Linked DNA regions of Homo sapiens: all the other regions are linked to region 1. The links are contacts of gene promoters, found by promoter capture Hi-C in human tissues and cell types (Jung and others, 2019). All regions are on one chromosome and are shown on one strand. The core of a region is centred on a gene start or on the middle of the fragment in contact, and the rest is flanking DNA. Distances in the headings are between cores, read along the strand shown. Region 1 holds the start of NLGN1 (neuroligin 1). Region 2 overlaps SPATA16 (spermatogenesis associated 16). Region 3 overlaps NLGN1 (neuroligin 1).

The links. Contacts are between HindIII fragments. The study calls those that stand out against the background at their distance.
Region 2: a fragment that was not itself captured here is called in contact with the fragment with the promoter of NLGN1 in region 1 in 1 of the 25 tissues and cell types used here (dorsolateral prefrontal cortex).
Region 3: a contact is called between a fragment that was not itself captured here and the fragment with the promoter of NLGN1 in region 1, in 1 of the 25 tissues and cell types used here (hippocampus).

The regions. Positions count from the first base shown.
Region 1 is chr3:173,396,249-173,399,325 of GRCh38, reverse strand. NLGN1 (neuroligin 1) reads right to left here and starts at 1,582. Exons shown (of 7, transcript NM_001365925.2): 1 at 1,263-1,582. RefSeq lists an enhancer at 2,814-3,077. The HindIII fragment of the contact is 5,603 bases long and covers 1-3,077 here.
Region 2 is chr3:172,992,849-172,995,925 of GRCh38, reverse strand. All of the region lies in intron 4 of SPATA16 (spermatogenesis associated 16), which reads left to right. Among named protein-coding and RNA genes, the nearest start is that of SPATA16, 150 kb to the left of the region's middle. The HindIII fragment of the contact is 3,298 bases long and covers 1-3,077 here.
Region 3 is chr3:173,727,127-173,730,203 of GRCh38, reverse strand. The region is part of intron 3 of NLGN1 (neuroligin 1); the gene reads right to left. Among named protein-coding and RNA genes, the nearest start is that of NLGN1-AS1, 190 kb to the left of the region's middle. The HindIII fragment of the contact is 3,312 bases long and covers 1-3,077 here.

The DNA of each region.
Region 1 (3,077 bases), core at 333-2,832:
GAATCTGCTGAAAGATTGACTCCCTCAATTTCTGCTTATGTTAAGAGGATTGGGAAGACTAACTGCAGAATAGCAGGCTTACAGAAAACAGTTACTTCTTTTAATCAAACCATGTAATCAGAAGGCCTGAGTAATGATTAACTTCCACTTTCTCTGTGAATCACTCAATCACTCTGCAGTGCAAGTAGACTTAGATTCATTCTCTGCCAAAGGCACAGTAAATTTAATGTTTTTGCATTTAACATTTAATATTTTAAATATATGAATGGCCCTTGCTTCTGAGCTCATTTCAAAAACCTTGTGTTCTGCTAGGTTACAATGGCTGATAGAAATGCTGAGACATTTTATAGGTTTTACACTCAAACATAGGTACACATACCCTTTCTCAGTGACATTTTAATATCTATGATCCTATTAATAATTGAGCACAATTAATGGTGAGAAATGCATTAAGACCCTGTAATTTTCATGTACAGCATGACAACTCAATTGACTTAAGCAAAAATAGTCTACCGGAGTTTGAGTATAAAAAGAGGGAAAATGAGTATATTAACTACCTGTAAAAATGCAGAGTAACAGATACTGGGTTAACTATACGAATTCACGTTTCCCAAGTGTTATATGTATCACTATGGCCCTGGAAATGCAAAAAGAAATAGTACCTTTGTGGAGGCCAACTGTTCATGATTTAGAATTATCACAAATGAATCAAATATTGGACATGTAATATCCCTCATCTCTATAACACACTAACAACCTCCTCTGGAAGAAATTATTCCCAATGCAAAATCTCAACCTAAATAATTTTAAATTCAGGTGGTTTTTCATTTCTACTCACAAGGCATTGTGTTGAGGCGGGCAGGAGTCGGTGGAGAACGGTTTAAATGTTTGGAATACCTTCTCTTCCCAGGAGAGTTTATTGCCCAATAATGCATAATATATTAGTTGCTCAACGCGGGGGATCTAGGGAGTGACATCTTGACTGGAAACACACAGATCTGAAAACCACCTCTCAGGAAACGTTGTGGGGAAGAAGAGCAACTTTCTTATCCCTGTCAAACTAACCGGCGGAACCAACCCCAGAACTAGCCGGAGGGCCTGGGGAGAGCAGAAGGCTGAAAGCAGCTCCTCTGCGCTCCGCCGAGGGTTCAGGCAAGGGTTTTCTTCTGGAGGCGGCATTGTTCCTCCATCTGCTCAGCCTCCGTATTTCGCCAGGAAACCCTCCCCGCTTTCTCGTAATCTGTTCCTTATTTCTTTTGTACCTCTCAGCCGATTTCCATGCTCTTGGTCTCTGTGGTCCCAGGGCACAGCTCTAGGGTGAAGAGCTGCAGTGACTGGGGCGCCGCTCTAAGGCTTTGGAGGCGACTGCACTCCGCCCGGGCTCTGGCAGCGTGAGCGCCGCACAGTCGCTCGCTCCCTTCTCTCCGGTCTCTCCGGCTCGGACGGGCTCTCCCGGCCTCTCATCACCCACTCCGACTCGCCTTTCCTGCCGTGTCTCCCCACGCCAGCTCCGCGCGCTCGGCGCTGGCCGCCCGGGCGCGCTCTCCGCGCCGCCGCCTGATCCTCGGCTTACAGCCGCGGCGCTCCCCCGCCCGCCCACAGGCCGGGACTCCGAATTGAAGGGTCAACCCTCCGCGGGGAGGCGGGGAGGAGCGGCGAGGAGAGCTGGGGCAAGTGGGGAGCCGCGGGTGGGGGGACTGACGGGGGAACGGGAGAGTGAGGCCAAGAAGAAAGAAGATGCATCTGCTCCGAAGACGCCAATGAAGAAAGGACAGAGGGGGCAGGAGTGGAGTGGGGGAGAGAACGCCCACCAGGAGGGTGGGCAAAACGGGCAATTTACAAACTGCCGGGGCTGGAGATGCCGCGCGGAGGAGGAAAGAGGTTAGCGGCACAGAAGAAGAAATGAGGGGAAGTTCCCACATCTCCCCAAAAGGTCACGTTTGAAAACCGTGTCCCTTGAACGGGAGTTAAACAAGCGACTGGCCATGGTGTAAAAGGTGGATTTAAAAGGAAATTTAGTGTCATGTACTTATTTAGACACGGCTTCGTCTCGCTCAACTCTGGCAAATTACCCTCCAAGTAAAATGTATTGGTTTTATGCAGAAACGGAAGGCGAATCTCCTCCACTGTGGACTCCTCCTGAGATTGGTTTGTTTGCTGGTTATCTTTCTTTTTAAATGAAAAAAAGCGTTTGGGAGCTTCCATGAACCCCAACGCTTAAAAAAAACCACCCAGTTTATTAAAGTTCATTATTTTTTATTGCTTTTATTTTCATCAGAGGATAGGGTGAGGGACTGGCATCTTCAGATGTTTAAAACACTTATTTAGGTAGCATTATTTTTTATAAAGGACACGATTTCCTAAAACCGCCAGAAAGGCTATTGGAAAACTCAGCTACTAGCCTGGGAAAGAGAGACGCATTTAAACTCAAATAGACGATTATACCTCCAGCACCCCCCACCCCCACCCCAATGGGATTGGAAAAGGGTTGAGTTTACAGAAGAGAGAGAGCAGAGAAGGGTGGGTGGAAGGTGGGGAAGGCGAAGGAGAGGCAGGGAATAGGAAGTTCTCGGCAATCCCCGGGATTAAGGTAAACGCCGGAGCTCGGCGGACGCAGGAAGCTCCCTTACCTTTCTCTCTAAGCCCCGTTTGCACCTGATCTGCAACCATAAATACTTCGTGGTGCTTAGTGTGCAGCCAAACGATGGCCAAATGTTAAACAATTCTTCACGCTCCCTCCCCCTTTTAAAAAACAGGCTCAAAAGAATGTTAATAGTGTTCTTGTTATCCATCGGCTCCAAAACATTCCGTTTCGTGGGGAGGAGAGACGAAAACCAGGCCCTTGGGCACGCGTATATGTATTTATATATTATGCGGTCGGTATATAAACATATATACGTTTCCTGCATGTAAATCCAAAATGAAAAGCACCACAGATGCTTCTGTAAACGGGAGGGGACAGCGAAGAGCAAAACTTGGCAAGCCAAATGTATCCAGAGATTTCGTACCAGGAGCCACCTGCTTCAATATGCAGAATTTCCGAGAAGATTTAGAGGGAGAAGGAAAAAAATTAAAAA
Region 2 (3,077 bases), core at 339-2,838, 400 kb after region 1:
ATATTAATTCACCCATATTAATTTCCTGGTTTTGTTAATTGTGTAGTACTACAATTATGTAAGTTGTTGAAGTTAGATGAAGCTGGAGAAGCTGGGTGAAAGAGTATACGTTAATGTACTGTTTTGTAACTTTTCTATGTATTTAAAATTCTTTCAAAGTAAAAAAAAGTTGTTGTTTAAAATAGCTTGTTTGTTATGTTTGTTTTCAGTCCATTATGTTTAAGAGTATCAGTTCTACTGGGTAGGGTTTCTCTGATTATCTTATCCACCATATTCTCAAATTTGAAAGCCAAGACTTAACATTTCAAGACATTTTTATCAGCTTTCTCTCCTAGCCTATTTTGGGATATCCTTCTTTGCCTGCTTTAATTTAAGAACATGTTCTTTTTCTATACGTTATATCTCCTACAGATTCCAACTTAATTTTAGCTTCTGAAGCTTATCCTGCTATTCTTTTATACTCTCTTTCTTTAATTACCTGAATCATAAAATCCAGTTCTGTTAGAATTGAAGCTAGAAGATCAGGATTAGCAATCCAGTTTTAATGTTTACAATTGTATTAGCCCCAAGAAGACATCTAGCCTTTGTGGAAAGTAGATAATAATAATAGTATTACCTAGTCTCACTTCTCCAAAAGTTGTTATAGGAATCAACTCTCTCTTTTCCTCTGGATCCTCCTACATCATACTCTTCAGATTTTACCCCATCCCCCTGATTTTTCTTTCCCAATCTCTTATTACTCAACTCACTGCCTAAAAACAGTATTTCCAAAGGTTCTATCCCCTTTACTTTTTTAAAAAAGAATTGCACATTTTCTTTTCCTTGTCCATTAAGTATCCCCTTCTGACTTTAAGTAATCAATATACTAATGATTCCCATATTTATGTCTACATTCTCAGATCTTTCCCCTCAAGCTCCACCTTTTATATTCAAGCACCATCTGAATATTCAAGCACCCCCATTTGGCTGTATTACAGGCATTTCAAGCAAAACATGTTCTAAACTTAAATTTTTACTGGTCTCAAAAACTTAACTCTCAAGTATTCTAACTGCCTAACATAAGGGATTAATTAATTAAAAAGTTAAAATGCCCACAGAATACAATGCAAAGATTTTAATTAATGCTACAAATGAATATTTACTAATGTGGAATATATTCACACCATATTGTTAATTTATTAAAGCAAGTTAACTGTATGTGCAGTATGCTTTATTTGCAGTACAAATTTGAACACATCTCTTTCCAGATTAATTACCTTAAATGGCTCTCCATAATCTACAAAATAATTCCTGGCCAGAAAAAATTAAAAATTATCTTATAATTAAGACCCTGTTTGTCACTCTGGCCTCCTTTCCCATCACGTGCGTGTGCACACACACACACATACACACACACAGATTTCAGTACTGAAATACCCCCCAAGCACAGCATGTTATTTTATGCTTCCACACATTTGCCTATGCCATCTTCTGTGCTCAAAATAGCTTTTTCCTCTTTGGTCACCTCTGAAGCCCTTCTCAGGACCTATCTGCCCTGGTTTCTCTGATTCTGCTTTCTCCCAGTAGAATTAACGCCTCTTTTTTTGTGCTATCTATCTCTATGCCTTGCCTATACAGCTACTAGTGGATATTCCGTGAATGCTAATTGAACTTAAAATAGCATGGGTTTCTTGAGAGTTTAGAACTGACTGATTCACCAAGAGTTTCTTCTTCCAAAGGGGGCTCCCTACCAGGAGTCACATACTCTTGGTATCTAAATCTTGAATCTAATTCTAAAGTAGGTAAGATTTTCTTAGAACAGGTGTCTGTGTATTAAAATACATAATAAAAGGGGAGCTCCTTATTCCAGACCTTTATAAAAGTCAACAAAAGTATTGGGAATGATGTGACCCAGACTCTGTAATGAAAAGTTTATGGCTTTTACTCTATGTCTTCCATGACTTGAATTTCCCTAAGCCTTATTAACATGTGAACACAAATTAAATCACAAGAACTGCAACAAGTTAATATTCTAGCTTATATCCCCACCAGAATAATACAAGACTTCAGTCCCCCCAACTGTCTTCTGGGATTCCTGGTGGCCAGCTAACATGCATTCCAGACAAGAATAGAGCAGAACAGCATGGTACAAAGAGGTTAGCATCTTAAGCGGGGGAGGGGGAAAGAGAAGAAAAGCAAAGAGGTAATGTCAGAAATACCCTTAGAAGTTTTTTGTATCATCTGCTGCTATGTGTGTTGTTTTGTGTATACAACCTATACACAAATATGCTCACATAAACATTTAATATTTATTGTAATTATGCCACAGGAAGATTATAATCAGAAGCTGTCACTCAAGGATTTCTCTGCTTGGAATACTTCAGCAAAGTAATGCAGATTCTATCCTGTTGGCTCTTGCTGTTCATCATCATCATTCCGTCTTTCACAGATGACTTTATCTGTCCAACAAACTCTTCCTTGGCCCTCAATTAATTACTACTTTTTTTCCTGGAAGGCTTAGAGGACCACCCACTTGCCCACAAGATGTTTGATTTATTTGCCATTGATCAAGGAAACCCTTACATCTTTCTCATATTTTAAAAACATTTTTAAAAATAGGTTTCAAATTTGATTATTGATGATTTGACTGATTCCATCCATTGCCTGTGAGCTTAACCTTATTGAATAGAATGGCAAGCTGTCACTTGCCACTATTTAATTTTCATTTTCTCTCTTTTTTTTTTCACTAATATTTTAAAATCCAACAAAGGTTGGATTTTAAACCTGCATAATGTAACCTTTCTGTTCACTCAGTTTTGGGATCAATCTTCAGCCTCTGGATCCCTCGCCAAGGAACTGGGGATAAGCCCCAACCACTGGGGGATAAGAGAATTCTCTCTCTAATAGTGTAGTCTGGATACTCTCGTAGGGATTCCAAAACATTCTTTTTCTGGGTTTGTTGTATTTTAGGTGTAATTGCTCAAAAGATTGTCTTTGAATTGCCTCTATCAAGTGATTTCTGTAAAAGACTTTGCTTTCCTCAAATAAATTCTGTAAAATCCTGGCCATGGCAGTAAATTCCTAAATCTTCACTTATT
Region 3 (3,077 bases), core at 348-2,847, 330 kb before region 1:
TATCCTGGTATTTCCAATATAATTGATAAATTTATATATAATCATGTATATTGATATATAATAATATATAAGCATATATGCACTGAACTCCTTCCAATGTTATATTTTCAATATCTAAAATAATACCTGGTCAATAGTAGGCACTCAATAAATAGTTTTTTTTTCTGTATTTCGAATTAATGCATTTTTCTAGCACCAAACACAAGTCAGAGATAGAGGGCAAAAAGAGGAAATTCTGCCTCACTGACCTATTCAGAAACTTTAAGTCCCATAGGTGAAATATCTGAAACAAATAGATATGCAAATGTAAAATGGAATTTTTGAAGCATTTGACAGAATATGGAAATTGGTAATCAGTAAAAATTTTCTATGATTGGATTACAGAACCACCAATGTATGGGTCCCACCACATACACATTTATATTGTGAGTGACCTGGACATTTGACAATGCATTCACCTTTAATATATACAACTATAACAATAAAGCTATTTTTAAGCTTTTATCAATGCTGTCAATATTTCTCCGTAAAAATTAAACTTAGCAATGTTATTCTTTTACAAGCAGCAGAAATTCCACGTTGCAGATTTGCATTCCATCAAAGGCATTATAATAAATTAAGAAGAATCATTAGAAAAGCTTACAATTTTGCATATTGCTTCACCAAGACTTCAAATCTGTGTAAGTGTGTGTATTTTAAACCATCCACGCAACTTATGTCCCTGGGTAAAATAATTTTAGAGATTACAAAAATCTTTAGATACCAAAGCCTAAAGAATTAGGATAGATGGAAACAAAATGAAGTTATTGTAATGCCCAAAGACTCAGAGGCTCACAGAAGACCAAGGAGTCTAAACATAGGAACAAGAAGTATTATCTGGGTTAGGAATCCTTGATCCATTGATGAATCTGAACTCAACAAAAAGTGTTTTGTTTTGTTTTTCGAGAATTTTAAAGCTGAAAATACATTTTCTGGGAATTGCTCAGCAGTGGATGGAATGACTGAGAGATAACTTGCTTGGTGGCTCTTAAGTCCAACTGATATTTTAAGAATCCTGGTTTCAAAAATTACTACCAGTATGACCTGGGTTTATAAAACCCCTCAAAGTCTTAGTGTTTTCATTTTAAAAGTATATGACAATCATCTCAGCAAAATAAGATTCCATCAGGTAATCTGAATAAAGTATTCAGTACAATGTCTAGCACATACTGATGGTTCAATGTTTATTATTTGCTGTAGTTCAGATATGTTATTAATTTCCTAGGGCTACAGGAACAAATTACCACAAACTCGGTGGCTTAAAATGAGAGAAATTTATCCTCTCACAGTTCTGGATGCTTGAAGTCTGAAATCAACCTGCCAGCAGGGCCATACTCCCTCTGAAGACTCTAGGGAAAAAAATCCTTCTTTGCGTCTTCCTAGCTTCTGGGGGCTTCCAGCAATCCTTAGCATTGCTTGACTTATAGCTGCCTCATTTAAATGTCTGCTTCTGTTTTTCACATGTTGTTCTTCCCTATACGTATGCATCCATCTGGTTCACCTCTACTCTTACAAAGATACCAGTCTTTGGATTTAGGGCCCACTCTAATCAAGCATGACTCATCTGAACTAAGTACATCTTAAAAGACCCAATTTTCAAATAAGGTCACATTTTGAGGTGTGGGGTTGACATGAATTGTTGGAGGGGGGGCACTATTCAACCCACTATAGATATTTAGCCCATTCTAAAGCTCACGTGGCTTTAACCAAAACAAGGGAAAGGTCAGAACACAATGGAGTATAAAGGAGGTAGTCACCTCTGTTATATATTGTCCTCCCATACATACATGCAAAGTCCACCTAGACTGGTAGTGTGAACACATTATTTTTCCATATGCCAAAATTTGCCTGTAAGATATCTTCTACCAGTTTGTTTTTATGTTTCTTAGGACTTTCATAGTCTTGCCACGTCTTATTCATTTGTCACTTACATCTTGTCACTAAGTCTAGTCATTTTTCTCTACTACACATCTCTCACATCCATTCTTCTCTCTCACTTCGAATTCTACCCAACCTTAGTGCCTCACACTAACATGAGTATAACCACCTTCAAACTAACCCTTGCCTCTAGACTTTCCCACCATAGGGCAAACTGCTGAGAGATTAATTCCCTATATTTTTTTCATATCAGTTCATATTCCCCAAGCCATCAATGATTCACCATTTATTTAGAGTAGAATCTACGTTCTTCAGATCAGCTGCATAGACTTTTATGATCTGATCCATTCACTTACCCCCAAATACTTCCTTCTGCAACTCAGTGGGAAACACCATCTCCAGTAATCCTGGTTTATTGTCTCCATTGCCTTCCTGTACTTCTTTTTGATTGCAAGAGGAAATTCCTTCTTAGCAGCATCAAAAAATACAGAGAATAATTCTGCCTTCATTTCAAAAGTCACTTTAAACCGAAATTCTGAGCTATAAAGGATTTGTAAAGGAGCCAGAATGTTTCCTTCCATGAATAAAGGATAAAGAATTTGTATATATATATACTTGTGGACTGGGACCCTACAGCCCTTGCAAGGTGTGTGGGTTGGGCAAGAGCTGAAAGGTTAAAAATTGGCTTTTGCTAGAGTGAATTCCAACCAAAAGAATGTTCATTTGGAAATGCCCAGCAAATGGTGAGAGCCAAGTCTAGGTTTTGTGTCAGTATTATTTCCAGGAGATAGTTTAAGGTGCTAGAAGGGCATACAACTCTAGCACGTCAGTGGCAGGCATAATGAAAGATATTTGCAAGAATCTATTATTTTACAAGAGTAGCATTGAAAGATGTGCTTTATAAATATTTTTCTACTTTTTAATAATTGAAAACTAGATATTGGTCTCCAAAGGAAAATATGTTTCTCTCCTGGGAAGTCAGCTCTGTATGTTAGGTAAGATTTCTGGGAACGGTCATTTAAGCTTGCCACTTACTAATTAACTGATCCCATGAAATACTTAAACCCTACTAGGATTTGCTATGCCCCAGTAAATCTGTTTCCCCCTCTGATGTTTCACTGTTGCTTTTTCCTCCCAACAGTGGCTATGAAACTTCTGTT